Regions from separate parts of the Homo sapiens genome. Here all the other regions are linked to region 1. The links are contacts of gene promoters, found by promoter capture Hi-C in blood cells and fetal thymus (Javierre and others, 2016). All regions are on one chromosome and are shown on one strand. The core of a region is centred on a gene start or on the middle of the fragment in contact, and the rest is flanking DNA. Distances in the headings are between cores, read along the strand shown. Region 1 holds the start of MYO1G (myosin IG). Region 2 has its middle 15 kb from the start of DDX56. Region 3 overlaps OGDH (oxoglutarate dehydrogenase). Region 4 overlaps OGDH (oxoglutarate dehydrogenase). Region 5 has its middle 28 kb from the start of ZMIZ2.

Evidence for each region. The method cuts DNA at HindIII sites, captures the fragments that hold promoters and counts their contacts. A CHiCAGO score of 5 or more calls a contact.
Region 2: a contact is called between a fragment that was not itself captured here and the fragment with the promoter of MYO1G in region 1, in 6 of 17 cell types (neutrophils, naive B cells, total CD4 T cells and 3 more). The highest score is 7.0, in neutrophils.
Region 3: a fragment that was not itself captured here is called in contact with the fragment with the promoter of MYO1G in region 1 in 2 of 17 cell types (monocytes and total B cells); the score reaches 5.8 in monocytes.
Region 4: a fragment that was not itself captured here is called in contact with the fragment with the promoter of MYO1G in region 1 in 4 of 17 cell types (total CD8 T cells, monocytes, total B cells and 1 more); the score reaches 7.6 in total CD8 T cells.
Region 5: a fragment that was not itself captured here is called in contact with the fragment with the promoter of MYO1G in region 1 in 1 of 17 cell types (activated CD4 T cells); the score reaches 5.3 in activated CD4 T cells.

What each region holds. Positions count from the first base shown.
Region 1 is chr7:44,977,505-44,980,416 of GRCh38, reverse strand. MYO1G (myosin IG) reads left to right here and starts at 1,402. Exons shown (of 22, transcript NM_033054.3): 1 at 1,402-1,550. The coding sequence starts at 1,456. RefSeq lists enhancers at 1,020-1,069, 1,100-1,169 and a silencer at 1,370-1,459. The HindIII fragment of the contact is 4,854 bases long and covers 829-2,912 here.
Region 2 is chr7:44,557,168-44,560,079 of GRCh38, reverse strand. No RefSeq gene overlaps it. Among named protein-coding and RNA genes, the nearest start is that of DDX56, 15 kb to the left of the region's middle. The HindIII fragment of the contact is 4,749 bases long and covers 1-2,912 here.
Region 3 is chr7:44,626,182-44,629,093 of GRCh38, reverse strand. The region is part of intron 2 of OGDH (oxoglutarate dehydrogenase); the gene reads right to left. Among named protein-coding and RNA genes, the nearest start is that of OGDH, 21 kb to the right of the region's middle. The HindIII fragment of the contact is 1,902 bases long and covers 492-2,393 here.
Region 4 is chr7:44,647,494-44,650,405 of GRCh38, reverse strand. OGDH (oxoglutarate dehydrogenase) reads right to left here. Exons shown (of 23, transcript NM_002541.4): 4 at 2,647-2,749. Among named protein-coding and RNA genes, the nearest start is that of OGDH, 42 kb to the right of the region's middle. The HindIII fragment of the contact is 1,972 bases long and covers 419-2,390 here.
Region 5 is chr7:44,719,520-44,722,431 of GRCh38, reverse strand. No RefSeq gene overlaps it. Among named protein-coding and RNA genes, the nearest start is that of ZMIZ2, 28 kb to the left of the region's middle. The HindIII fragment of the contact is 5,346 bases long and covers 1-2,912 here.

The DNA.
Region 1 (2,912 bases), core at 153-2,652:
TTACAAATTTGGGGATTTTTCAGGCCAGTGGCCCCTTATTGCAGTGGTGCGTGACTCAGTTTTATTAGGTACTTGAATAAGTACTTTCAGTTTTATCAGGAATGCATTTGCTTTAAGGTATTCGAGAGAAAAAAATAAACTTAACTTGCCTATCCATTACTTCAAAGTTTAAAAAATGGGATGACTGAAAGACAATAGTTAAACTAGTGCTTATGAGTACAACAAATCTCAAAGGCAGCACATGAATGACTGAAGTTTGGGAATTCTGGAGTCTGCCCTTTGACCTCCCTGTATGAGGGAAGGGGTGAAAGAGAAATGTCACCAGTCTATTTGTAGGATGAGAGAGAACTGCATCCATTTGACCTTTGATGAGAGAATCGCCCCAGTGTTCCTAGAGGATGGGTGTGACCTGCCCCAGTCTGTCCTGGGATGAAAAAGAACTTTTTCCAGTCTGCCTGGAAGCTAAGAGAACTGCACCCCTCCCACTTCTTCCAGGAGCACTAAGTGTCAGGAATGCAGTGTCTGGAGATTTTGGCCACTCCCTAAATGCAGCCGCTCCCCAAATGCGCTGCCTCATCTTCAAAGTGCAGGGACAGCAGCTCTGAGATGAGGCCACAGGGCTCCAGGCATGTTCCTGGTCCTCACTGCAGTTTATGGGGGATCGGCTGGACACAAGTACAAGGCAGAGGACAGTTAGGGGCACAGGGGTCCCACTGAAGGCCAGCCCCATGCAGAGGATGCTCTGGGGTCCTCTGTCCCTCCCCCGTGGCTGGGGTGGGGAATTGCAGTGCTAGGACCACTGGCCCTTGGCAGGTCACACAAGAAGCTTTGCTCGTCTACACCCCAGTGTGGCCTTCACACTGCAAAGAAGGCTGTTGCCCCCACCCCAAAGGCCTGGGCATTAGGATCCTTTTTCATTTTTGTATTAATGTACAATGTACATACAGTATATTGCATCTAGTGTTCAGTTCTGACTTGAGAGACACACACAGCCAGGTAACCAAGATCACGTCAAAAAATCTTTCTTTAAAGTCCCACAAGTGACTCTAACGTGCTGCCAGGGTTGGAAGCCAACCCACGGAGTCTTGTCTCCTGCTTGTGGGTGGAGGGGAGCTTCCGAAGGAGGCCAGCGAAGAACCCTCCAAAGCGGGGAGGACCCAGCATCCGGCCCCTCGCCCCTGGCGTGCAAACGGGTCAGACCGTTAGGCACAGCCTCCTTGTGGGGCGCAGGGACAGGAAGCAGGGTTTAGAGCACCTCGAGGGGGAAGGAGTGGCAAGTGCGGAGGGCAGCCCCTCCCAGGACTAGAACCCACTTCCTACTTTACACCAGCACTGGAGGAGGCTGGTGGGGCAGGGCGGGGGCGGTGGGGCCTCCCCTAGCCTTCCCTCCCCCTCTCCTTCACTGTCCTTCCAGCAGGCACAGGAAGGTGAGGCAAGGTGTTTCCAGCCGGCAGGATGGAGGACGAGGAAGGCCCTGAGTATGGCAAACCTGACTTTGTGCTTTTGGACCAAGTGACCATGGAGGACTTCATGAGGAACCTGCAGCTCAGGTAGGCCCAGGGCAGGAGGCAGTGGCTCCCCTCCTCCAGGGTCTCCCACCTTGCGTCCTCGCAGAGACCTGAGGGAAAGAGGAAGGCACGCTGCTGTCCAAGGGAGGGGGCAGTGGCACACACCCACCCAGACCAGATGGGGCTGAAATGAGTGCCTCAAAGCACGGCCCCAGGGGACAGGAACAGACAAGGAGGCAACTGTCCCTGTCAGGGCTGGCAAGTCAGCACCGGAGCTGCCCACCACCTCAACCCACCCCTGCCTCCCACACAGTCCAGGCATCTTCTGCCCCTTCTTTCCTGCCCGACGGGGCCAGGGCATGACACTTCTTGGACAGATACATACCAGGCACTATCTTTCCAGGAGGGACCAGGGGCACCTCCCTCCAGCCACTTCCCAGCCAGTTGTTGATGCTCCCTCGATGCATCTCATCCATGGGGCCTGGCCTGAGCCCTGGGGACACTGAGATGAAGCAGTCAGGCTCCACCCTAGGGTCCAAACATTCCCACCAAGTTGAGGTGACATTCTCCTGGGGTACATGGAGTATCACAGGACACAGTTGGTAGAAGTGATATTGGAGCCCAATTTACCATCAAGGAGGGCAGGTGGAGGGCAGGGAGAAGCCCGGGAGGTAGGGGCATGGCACAGTAGGGTGGCCATACAGGCAGCTGGGCTTCCTGCCAGGACTCCCAGGGAGGGGCAGAAGGCCACTCGCTGTGTACTCCGGAAGCTCCCTGGGGAGAGCTTGGGGACCAGGATCCCCACTAAGCACCGAAGGCAAGAGACCACGAGCCTGGCTCAAAGAGGAGGGCTAGCCAGGACGTGAGCTAAGCACTTTGTGCACATTGTTCTACCTCATTCTTATAAAATGAGCTTATGAAACATTGTCCTCTCTATTTTGATGAGGAGAACACTGAGCCCTGGAGACGTGGGTGACTTGTGCCCTCATCCCCAGCTTGTAGGAGGATGGGAGCTAGGCCCAGGAAAACCCATGTCAGAGGTGGTGGAGAAAGAGGAACCTCAGGACAGGCCCACCCAGGACAGGCTGCCGGGAGACAGGGCCATCCAGGGAAGGGTGGGTACCACACACCAAGGGGAGATGGGTCTGAGGGGCAGGCCTGCCAGTCCTCCTCCCAGGGGCAGAAAGGTCAAGAGAAGGGCAGACATCCACCCCCACTGGGGACCAGGTTTGTGAAGGAAAGGGTCAAGAAGTCTGAGGCTGTGCCAGGGGAGAGGCAGCAGCCACTGGCCACAGGCTGGGGGGTCGGGGGTGTAAAGACAACGACATCAACTCCCTCCCTGTCATCTGGGTGGGGCTGGGTGGGGTCCCCTTTTGTCTCTGGGTTCCCGCCCAGGCCTTGAGA
Region 2 (2,912 bases), core at 309-2,808, 420 kb after region 1:
CTGCTTGTGGCTGTTCCAGCAGTGGGGAGATGGAGGGTCACACAGTCCTGAGTCTATGGCTTTGACAGCAACGGGTCCTGACTGCAGCTGTATTCGTGAAGCGAAGTACCTAATACAATCACCGAAATGTACAAATTGGACCCCTATAGGTTCAAGGATTCTTGGTGTAGGAGGTATGGCCCCCGCCCCGGGAACCAGGACCTCAGCTTTTAGAAGCAAAATGCATGAATGCAGTGATGGTTAGGCCAAGTGCCAAGGGAGACAGCCAACCCCTGCTATCATGGCCAGAGGAGGGAGAGACCACTCAGGCCTGGGTGGTGGTAGAAATCCTCACTGCCAAGGAGATTGTATGCGCAGGCGTTGGGAAGGCCCGGAGAAGCCTGAGAGACAGGCTTGGCTTGGTTATAGCAGAGCTGGGTGGAGGGAGCAGATTAGTTGGCTTAGCACAGGCTTCCTGCAGGGTGGTGGTTCTTGGCCAGATTTGCCCCAGTGGGGCTTTTGGGAAAGTATAGAAATATTGTTGTTTTTTTTTTTTTGAGACAGAGTCTTGCTCCGTTGCCCAGGCTGGAGTGCAGTGGTGTGTTCTTGGCTCACTACAACCTCCATCCACCTCCCGGGTTCAAGTGATTCTCCTGCCTCAGCCTGCCAAGTAGTTGGGACTACAGGCATGTGCCACCACACCCAGCTAATCTTTGTATTTTTAGGAGATGGGGTTTCACCATGTTGGCCAGGCTGGTCATGAACTCCTAACCTCAAGTGATCTGCCCGCCTCAGCCTCCCAAAGTGCTGGGATTACAGGTGTGAGCCACTGTGCCAGCCAAGAAACATTTTAGGTTATCATATCTGGGCAATGGATGCTACTGGCTTTAGGTGGGAAGAGGCCGGGGATACTGTTAAAATCATGCAATGTACAAGGCAGCCCCCACAAGAGAGTTCTGTGGTTGAAAATGTCCGTAGTGTTGAGGTTGAGGACTCTGCTGTGGGGCAACAGTAGGAGAAGGGGTGCTAATAGTCAGGTGGTGGACAGCAGGGAATTACAGGTACATCAGTTAGGAGTGTATACAGCTGCAAGTAAGAGACCACCAGATGGCAGGAACAGTGGGAACAGAATGGTTTATCTTTTTCATGTGTCAAGATAAGTGGTGCTAAAGTCAGGCATGGTGGCCCTCACTTATAATCCCAGCAATTCAGGAGGCTGAAGAGTGAGGATCACTTGAGGCCAGGAGTTCAAGACCAGCCTGGGCAACACAGTGAAATGCCATCTCTAAAAATAAAAATTAAAAAAATTAGCCAGGGGCTGGGTGCAGTGGCTCACGCCTGTAATCCCAGCACTTTGGGAGGCTAAGGCGGGTGGATCACCTGAGGTCAGGAGTTCGAGACCAGCCTGGCCAACATGGTGAAACCCTGTCTCTACTAAAAATATAAAATTAGCTGGGCATGGTGGCACACCTGTAATTCTACTTACTCGGGAGGCTGAGGCAAGGGAATCACTTAGAACTGGGGAGGCGTAAGTTGCAGTGAGCTGAGTCACGCCATTGCACTCCAGCCTGGGCGACAGATCAAGACCCTGTCAAGGAAAGGAAAGGAGAGGGGAGGGGAGGGGAGGGGGGAGGGGGGAGGGGGGAGGAGAAGGAGGGAGGGGGAAGATTAGCTAGGCATGGTGATGAGCACCTGTAGTCCCTCCTAGCTACTCCGAAGGCTACGGTGGGAGAACTGCTTGAGCCTGGGAGGTCAAGGCTGCAGTTAGTGATGATCGTGTCACTGCACTCCAGCCTGGGTGAAAAAGTGAGACCCTGTCTCAAAAAGAAAAAAGACAGATAGGAAGAAAGAAAGAAGAAAAGAAAGAAAAAGAGAGAGAGAGAGAGAGGGAGGGAGGGAGGGAAAGGAAAGGAAGGAAGGAAATGCATCTGATTTTTGTGTATTGATTTTGTATCCTATAATTTTGCCAAGTTCATTTATTAGTTCTAGTAATTTTTTTTATTAAAAAAAATTTTCAAGATAGGGTCTCACCCTGTTGTCTAGGCTGGAGTGCAGTGGCACGGTTATAGCTCACTGCAGTCTCCATTGCCAGGACTCAAACAGTCCTCCTGCCTCAGCCTCCTGAATAGCTGGGACTACAGGCATGCCAGCATGCCTGGCTAATTATTTTATTTTTTGTAGAGATGGGGTCTCACGTTGTTGCCCAGGCTGGTCTTAAACTCCTGGGCTCAAGTGATTGTCCTGCCTCAGTCTCCCAAAGTGCTGGGATTATAGGCATGCTCCACCACACTCAGACAAGTTATAATACATTTTCAGTGGCGTATTTACTGTTTTAGAATATAAAATCTATCTGCAAATAGAGATAAGTTTAATTTTTTTCTAATTTGGACACTCTTTTCCTTCCTCCCTCCCCTTCCCCTTTCCCTTCCCCTTCCCTTTTCCCTCCCTCCCTCTCTCCCTCTCTTTCTCTCTCTCTCTTTCTCTCTTTTCTCTTTTCTTTTCATTTCATTTTTGCCAAATTGCTCTGGTTAGAACTTTTAACACTATGTTGAATAGAAGTGGTGACAGTATCTCATTCCTAGACACTTTTCGAAAGAAGACATACATGCAACCAACAAACATTTGAAAAAAAACTCAATATCACTGATCATTAAAGAAACAGAAATCAAAACCACAATGAGATACCATCTCACATCAGCCAGAATGGCTATTATTAAAAAGTAAAAAAAAGAAAAAATAACATGCTGGCAAGGTCATAGAGAAAAGGGAACACTTGTACAGTGTTGGTGGGAGTGTAAATTAGGTCAACCATTGTGGAAAGCAGCGTGGCAATTCCTCAGAGACCTAAAGGCAGAACTACCATTCGACCCAGCAATCCCATTACTGGGTATATACCCAAAGGAATGTAAGTTGTTCTGCCATAAGGACACATG
Region 3 (2,912 bases), core at 193-2,692, 350 kb after region 1:
TTTGATGTGACCTCAAATATGCTGAGACCCTAATGAGGAGGGTTTCATAGGCTGACAGCCCAGGCCACCGCTGAAGGCTCTTAAGAGGGGTCAGTGAGGAGCACAAATGCCAGACTAGAACAGAGACGAAAGTCTAGGACAGGACCAAAGGTAGGAACAAAAGGGAGATGGCAGATGGGCCCACCACAGAGACAGACCCAGGTCAGCTAGTTAACCGGATTCTGTTCTGGGGAGTGGACTTAGGGTAAAAAAGGTACTTGCAGCTCTGATTTGCTAAAATATTTTACCACAAATATAATTTTCACATCAGTTAAGCATTTTAAGAATAGAAGTTTTTTTTAAGAGGCTGGGTGTGGTGGCTCACATCTGTAATCCCAGCACTTTGGGAGGCCAAGCTGGGAGGATTGCTTGAGCCCAGGAGTTCAAGACCAGTCTGGACAACATAAAGAGACTCCATCTCTATTTACATTTTTTTATTTTTTTAAAAAGCTTTCTATTTTATTTTTAATAGAGACAAGGCCTTGCCTTGTCCAGGCTGGTCCCAAACTCCTGGACTCAAGCAATCCTCCTGCCTCAGCCTCCCAAAGTATCAGGATTACAGGCATGGCTCCTACTTACATTAAAAAAAAGTTTTTAATTAAAAAATAAATAAAATTAAAAATAAGGAATACAACGACCAATTATAAAGTGTAAAACCAAATGTAAAAAAAAGTAAAATAAAAATTAAAAAACAAAACAAAACAAAATGTAAAAGGGCAGCTTTAAGAGAAGAGTAAATATTTAAACATGGACTGAGAAAAAATTCTATTAGAGAATTAGCCTGTTAATTTTATTGGGTGTGGTTATGAAAACAATTACTTAACAGTTAGTTACACTGATGCATTTATGCCAGAAATGACACAGGTCTGGAATTTGCCTTAAAATACTCCAGTGTCTACTCTCCTCAAACCCCAAATAAACCAACAAATAAAAAAGTCACTGGGGTAGGGAATAGATTTTTAAGACAGCTGTTGAAGCTGCGTGACCAGTCTCCTCATTAGGCTTATCATCTACTCTTCTCTCTACTGTTATGTATGCTTGGAAACACTATAAAACACAGATTTAAAAATAACAATGGGGCTGGGTGCAGTGGCTCACGCCTGTAATCCCAGCACTTTGGGAGGCTGAGGTGGGCAGACTGATTGAGGTCAGGAGTTTGAGACCAGCCTGGCCAACATGGTGAAACCCCGTCTCTACTAAAAATACAAAAATTAGCCAGGCGTGGTGGCGCGTATCTGTAATCCTGGCTACTCGGGAGGCTGAGGCACGAGAATCACTTGAACCAGGAGGTGGAGGTTGCAGTGAGCTGAGATCACCTCACTGCACTGCAGCCTGGGTGACAGAGTGAGACTCCATCTCAAAAAAATAAATAAAATAAATAAAAATAAAAACAACAATGGGAAAGTAGTGCCAAAGGGCAGGAGAGGAAGATGCTGAGTTTGTTCCTTTTCTGCTATATGAGTTTAGTCCTTGCAGCCCCCCATAAGCTCTCTGAAAATAAGTACGGAATCCGACCTCAGGACATTTCTGATGTTTAAACAGAAGATGAGATAGATGATCTATCTAAATCCTACAGCACTTCTAATTTTATTATCTCTATTTAAACTATTATTATGTCTATTTAAACTATGTGATCTAAAATAAGAGCACAAATAAAGTGAAATGCCTCTAAGGCTATGGATCCTAAACTTTCATGGGTGACAGATGCTTTGAAATTTGGACAGAAGTTATGGATTATCTCCCTTGAAAAACATGCACATGGCCAGGCGCCGTGGCTCACGCCTGTAATCCCAGCACTCTGGGAGGCCAAGGCAGGCGGATCACGAGGCCAGGAGTTCAAGACCAGCCCGACTAACATGGTGAAACCCCGTCTCTACTAAAAATACAAAAATTAGCCGGGCGTGGTGGCACAGGCCTGTAATCCCAGCTACTCAGGAGGCTGAGGCAGGAGAATCGCTTGAGCCTCGGAGGTGGAGGTTGCAGTGAGCTGAGATTGCACCACTGCACTCCAGTCTGAGCGACAGAGTGAGACTCCATCTCAAAAACAAAACAAAACAAAAAAACAAACAAACAAAAAACATGCACACACCACATACTGGGCCCAATTCAACTTAAAGAGGACCCACCTTGCCGTCTGGGATGGCAGAGGAGTGATGAAGTCCGTGCTGGATGACAACCGGGATTGCTGGAGGGCACGCCCACTTTTAACCATCCTGTCCCCTCCCCTCTACAAGCAGGGAGGGGCAGAGCATGCATGTGATTCCCACACTGTGCCCCCTGGAGACTCCCAGCAACAGAAACAGGCATAAAGACATAAAGCCACCATGCCCCCACAAAAACCATCTTCAAAAGCTTCCAGCAGGAGCAGCTATGATGGCAACAGGCCCAGTGTCCACAGCACTGTGGCCACACTGCTCACAGAGTGCACCTTTTACCCATGAATCACTGAGGACCAAACCTTCACAAGGACATGCAGTCTCAGCCAGGTGCTCTTTACCTTTCAGACACTAGGCACTGTCATTTAGGAGCTACTGACTCCAAATCCTAACATCACTGAAAACAACTTGGTTGGTTCCAAGAAAAGGTTATGTTTGAGAAAAGGAAGGCAAAAGAATAGGCCTGGGCACATAATAGTCCTTGATTCTGAAACCTCAGGGCTCAGTTTTATTCTAGATATAATCTGCAGGTGTAGGGGTGTGTGTGTGTGTGTGTGTGTGTAGGGGTGTGTGTGTGTGTGTGTGTGTGTGTAGGGGTGTGTGTGTGTGAAATCTGCCACAATCTGCAACCACAGTCTTCAGTAACATCCATGATATCACATCAAAAGCAGGGGCCAGTTTCACAGAGCACTTCTTCTGGGCAATTTGTTTACAGAC
Region 4 (2,912 bases), core at 155-2,654, 330 kb after region 1:
CTAGCCCAAGGTCACACAGCTAGTAATAGTGGGCTGGGATTCCAATGCAGGGAGTGTGGCTCCAGAGTCCCGGCTCTCTGAGGTTCAAATGAGACGACGGGTCTTGAAGTGTTCTACAAACTGTCTAGCGGTCACATCTGACCTGCTGTTTTCTTGAAGACCTGCATACATCAAGGGTGAGAGTTCGAGACCAATTTTCCTACAGATACAAATGTTTTAACAAGTTTACGCGGTTTCCATTTTTTGTACCTGAAGACTAGTGGGATTTTTAGGTCACACTATTTCAAATCCACAGGATTAAAATGCACCTTCCTCTTGAAACGTGGAGACTACTCCCTGACTCTCTCTCTCAGTGGTTCCAAAGGGCTCCTGGCCAGAGATGTCAGAAGTTTTCCTCCTCAAAGGATTTCAGGAAGCTTTAGGGCCACTTCTGTATGTTTTAGTTTCTTGGTTTATAAAGTCCTCTTGTCCTCTCACCCTCACCATGATGTTGTTGCTGAATCTGGAACCACAAACCTCACAGAAATACTGAGGACACTATTCCAGAGTGAAATATATGGTAAGACCTTGTGATGGCCTGGGAAGAGATTCCCAGATTCTGGCCCTGCCTCGGCCACTAATGAGATGGGAAATTAGTGCGTATGTTGACAGTGCTTAGGGTTTCTCACCCTTAAAAGACTATGCTGGGTTGGGTTTACCTAGGTGTGGCCCCTCTTGATATTAGTCTGAAGGGGAAGAGAGGAGAGCTTTAGAGCTCCCCTGGTTATACTAACGTGCACAGTTGGGACAAAGAGCTGGGACAATGCAGGTTCTGGAAGGAGAGGGAGAAGTCAGTCACTTCATCTGCTCCTCTCCTGTTCGAATGTTTTGCTGCTTGTAAAAAATGAGCATTCCAGCCAGGCGCGGTGGCTCACACCAGTAATCTCAGCACTTTGGGAGGCTGAGGTGGGCGACATGGTGAAACCCCGTTTCTACTAAAAATACAAAAATTAGCTGGGTGTGGTGGTGCGCTCCTGTAGTCCCAGCTACTCAGGAGGCTGAGGCAGGAGAACTGCTTGAACCTGGGAGGCAGAGGTTGCAGTGAGCCGAGATTATGCTGCTGCACTCCAGCCTGGGTGACAGAGCAAGACCCCATCTCAAAAAAAAAAAAAAAAAAAAAACAACAGAAAATGAGCATTCCGCAGCTCTCCTACCCTGCCTAAATGCAGAGGGAGGTTTTCCTCTGAAGAGGTGGCTTCCAGATGCAAGTCCCTGTGCTCTTCATCAGGGAGCAGCAAGTCTACCAGCTGGGGAGTTTGGCCTGCTCTGAGCACCTGAAGAGGATCCCACAGGTCTAGAAGTCTCTGGGGGCTGGAGAGGCACAGGGCAGACAGGCTGTGATGGGACTGGGGGTGCCAGCAGGGAGGTTTGCTGTACTAAGGGGTGAGCAGTAGGGAAGAGGCTCCAAGACCTCCGGGGACACTGCAAAGAGAGGCCCTCTTCTTGGGAGCACAAAGTTGTCACCACGGAATGAAAAAGCAGGGTTCAACTCATGCCCAGTCTACCATCTGAACTGGCCTTAATCAATAAAATTCAAGAGGATTTCTCTAAACTCCCTTCCTAAATCCGCTAAAGGGCTGGTATTAAAAAAACAATTACAAACCATCAATGCCAATTCCAAAGTCAATGATGTTTGATGATTAATGCCTCATCCCCTAGACATAACTTAGTAATGCCTATAAAGATATCCAGGCACTGCAGAGCCTTAGAGACTGTCTGTACCATTCCCCAAAAGTGCCTGTGAGGAGGCTAATTTCGTACCCATCCCAAGAGGAGTATTAGGCAAGTAAGTGATCATCAATTTCATCAGCATGCACAGTGTCTATTGTGAACACCCTGGCCATTTAAAAATTAGTCACATCATCATTTCTTTAGTACAGGTTAGCAGCACAGTGACATAAAGCAGACTAACTCTGCAAAGCAACTGCAGGTGAGAGCCCAGCCACAACACCCACCTCACTTCATGAGGAGGAGGGGGTGTAGGTGGGACTATCTTCTGGCAACCGTGACAAAACCCCAGTGTGCTCCATACATGCACCTCCCAAAGGCCCTGACCTCCTGACGCTGTGGGAATGCCTTCCAAAGTTTCCTCAGTGTGATCACCAGCAATTACAAATCAGGAGACCCAACTGCACAACTTGCTCTAGAATTCGTCCCCTAAGGGACATGGCCTCCAGTCAAGGGCAGGCCACACTGGGCTTCAGAAAAGGATGGCTGTGTCAGCAGTTCCTGAGCAAGGCCTCATGGACATGCCTCACTGAAGGCAGTGCTGCACTGACATTTGAAAACCTGAAGCCAAAAGAGCTATACTCTGAAGTGCTTCTGATCCACCTGCCCCAGGTGGACAAGCTTTTTCCCTGTGCCACAAACCTTTCTGTCCAAAATTTTATTTTCAAATTTTGAGACTTAAGACAATCTGGCTGAAAAAGTAAGATAAAAATAACTTGCCCAAAACACACTAAGGCTACAATACCGATAAATTTCAAGTGATCAGAATGAAAGGAAACTTAAGAGCCTTTCCCTCCTGCCTGGACATCCTGGCTACCACAGGTCGTGGCACAGCGAGAGGAGCTCAAGCAACGCAGCTGACTGCTCTCAGACCCTCACCAAGTTTGTCTGTGGATGAGATAATGTCAGCGGGCACGGAGGAGTCCAGATCAGCATCCAAAATCCCCAGGGGGTCCAGCTGTGCTACATGGTGCCCTCGTATCTATGAGTGGCCAACGATGAGAGGGAAGGACACACACAAAAGGACAGAAGAAAAAAAAAGAGGGAAGGGGTAAAAAAAAAGTAAAATTACATTAAAATTAGCATTTACAGCTTAATTCTCACCCACGTTTGAAGAAACAGTTACTGGAGCATCATCAAAATTT
Region 5 (2,912 bases), core at 234-2,733, 260 kb after region 1:
AAAAGTGATTAAGCCTCCTAAATGCTTCATAAAAAGCCACTGTGACTCTCAACTGTACAACTTGCCTGCTTTACAGCTAGGTAAGGCCTGGCACACATGGAGTTAGATGCTGGAAAGAGTCAGACCTTATCTGGACTTCTGTCTGAGTCCTAGGCTCTACACCTACTACATCATTAAAATCCCGAACTTACAAAGGTTGGCAGTAAAAGTAAAAGTCACTAAGAGTTAACACTGTAACATGTAATTGAGACTACTGAAGAAACAATTTTACATGCAAGGTGTGTAAAAAAGTGAAATGTGTTTTTGGTAAAAGATTATAAGAAGTCATGGGAATGTACATTTTTTTGACTAGATTAATGGGTTAAATGATTGTATTAAGTTAGATGGAATAAAGCTGAAGGTTTAAGCAAATTGTGGAAGGTTTGTAAAAAATTAATCCTGTAGACTGGGCATGGTGGCTCACTCCCGTAATCCCACCACTTTGGGAGGCAAAGGCAGGTGGATCACTTGAGGTTGGGAGTTCGAGACCAGCCTGGACAACATGGTGAAACCCCATCTATACTAAAAATACAAAAAAAATTAGCTGTGCATGGTGGCACACGCCTGTAGTCCCAGCTACACAGGAGGCTGAGGCAGGAGAATTGCTTGAACCTGGGAAGTGGAGATTGCAGTGAGCCAAGATTGTGCCACTGCACTCCAGCCTGGGCAACAGAGCGAGACTCCATCTTGGAAAAAAAAAAAAAAAACAGAAAAAAATAATAATCTTGTTAAAAAAATTCAGTGTATGGGCCAGACATGGTGGCTCACGCCTGTAATCCCAGCATTTTGGGAGGAGGCTGAGTCGGGTGGATCACTTGAGGTCAGGAGTTCAAGACCAGCCTGGCCAACATGGCAAAACCCAGTCTCTACTAAAAATTAAAAAACATTAGCTGGGCATGGTGCTATGAGCCTGTAATCCCAGCTACTCAGGGGGCTGAGACATGAGAATCACTTGAACCTAGGAGGTGGAGGTTGTAGTAAGCCAAGATCATGCCACTGCACTTTAGCCTGGATGACAGAGTGAGACTCTGTCTAAAAAAAAAAAAAATTCTGTGCGTGAATATATTGGCTAAAGTTAAGGGGATATTATTCAGTTTTTCTGTAAATTAAACATTGGAATAAAAGCAAAATATGTTTTTCTTAAAGCAAAAACCTGCTTATAATATGCTCTTTAACAAAAATTTGTAAAGGGTTATAAAAGGTTTATGAGAATCTTACCTTATGGTTAAACATTGACGTTGGGTAGATATGTCTATAAGGTTTTATTGAGAATTGGGTTTAACATTAATAATACACTAATGTAAAGGTGAAAGTTTGTCTTATTTGGTACAAAAATCATACAGGAAACATTGTCAAATTGAAATGGTATTTGGCTTTCTTGAGGCTGTATTTTTATAAATATGTTCTTGGTATGTGTTCCAAAATAATGGGAAACTCATAATTCAGATATGACTTAGTATATGTTATTAATAATTATAATTGTTACATAAAGTCATTGTATTCCACAGAGGTAACCAAATTTCTTTGTCAATTGTGTTGTTGACTGTGGCCGTCCTAAGACATTTTGTCATCCATAAATAATTGTTGTCTTGTTTTGGTCCTCTTTAGAAGGTGGTTTATAATCAACTATAGAACTCTAACAGATGTTCTTAAACGCAGGTTTCTGATAACTTTTGAGATTGTGACATTAGAGTAGAGGAAAATACTTTCAGGACTCTCATGAAGAGCTGAAATGTTCATGAATATCAAACAGGAGTTAACTGCATGTAATAAACTAATAGAAGCCTGAAGTAATCTTTTTTAACATTTGCTTAAAATGTTACTAATCCTTTGCTTTGTTTTTCAGAGTTAAGAAAAAATTTCTTTTTAGCTATTTACAGCTTTTAACAATTGAGTAAAGTGAACAAAATTTAGAGCATATTTGTTTCTCTCTACCTGGTTTCTCCAGAATTTGGAAACTAGTTGTGAGTATTCTTAACTTATGGTGATGTAGTTATTGGCATAAGTGCAATAAGAATCTGTTTTTAGCCAGGCGCAGTGCCTCACGCCTGTAATCCCGGGACTTTGGGAAGCCGAGGTAGGTGGATCACCCAAAGTCAGGAGTTCAAGACCACCCTGGGCAACATGGTGAAACCTTGTCTCCACTAAAAATACAAAAATGAGTCAGGCATGGTGCTGGGCACCTGTATGCTGTCCCAGCTACTCGGGAGGCTGAGGCGGCAGAATTGCTTGAACCTGGGAGGCGGAGGTTGCAGTAAGCTGAGATCATGCCATTGCACTCCACCCTGGTGACAAGAGCAAAACTCTGTCCCCGCACCCCCCCAAAAAAAGAGTCTGTTTTTGCAACAGGACACGATTGGAGAAACTGGTTATTTTAGGCCAGGTGCAGTGGCTCACACCTGTAATTCCAGCACTTTGGGAGGCTGAGGTGGGTGGATCACAAGGTCAGGAGTTCAAGACTAGCCTGGCCAAGATGGTGAAACCCCGTCTCTATTAAAAATACAAAAAAATGGCCAGGTGTGGTGGCTCACGCCTGTAATCCCAGCACTTTGGGAGGCCAAGGCGGGCAGATCACGAGGTCAGGAGTTCAAGACCCACCTGGACAACATGATGAAACCCCGTCTCTACTAAAAATACAAAAATTAGCTGGGCACAGTGGCACACCCCTGTAATCCCAGCTACTCAGGAGGCTGAGGCAGGAGAATTGCTTGAACCCAGGAAACGGAGGTTACAGTGAGCCAAAATTACACCACTGCACTCCATCCTGGGTGACAGAGTGAGACTCCATCTCAAAAAAAACCCCAAAAACCAAAAAACAAAAAAATTAGCTGGGCATGGTGGTAGGTGCCTGTAATCCCAGCTACTCGGGAGGC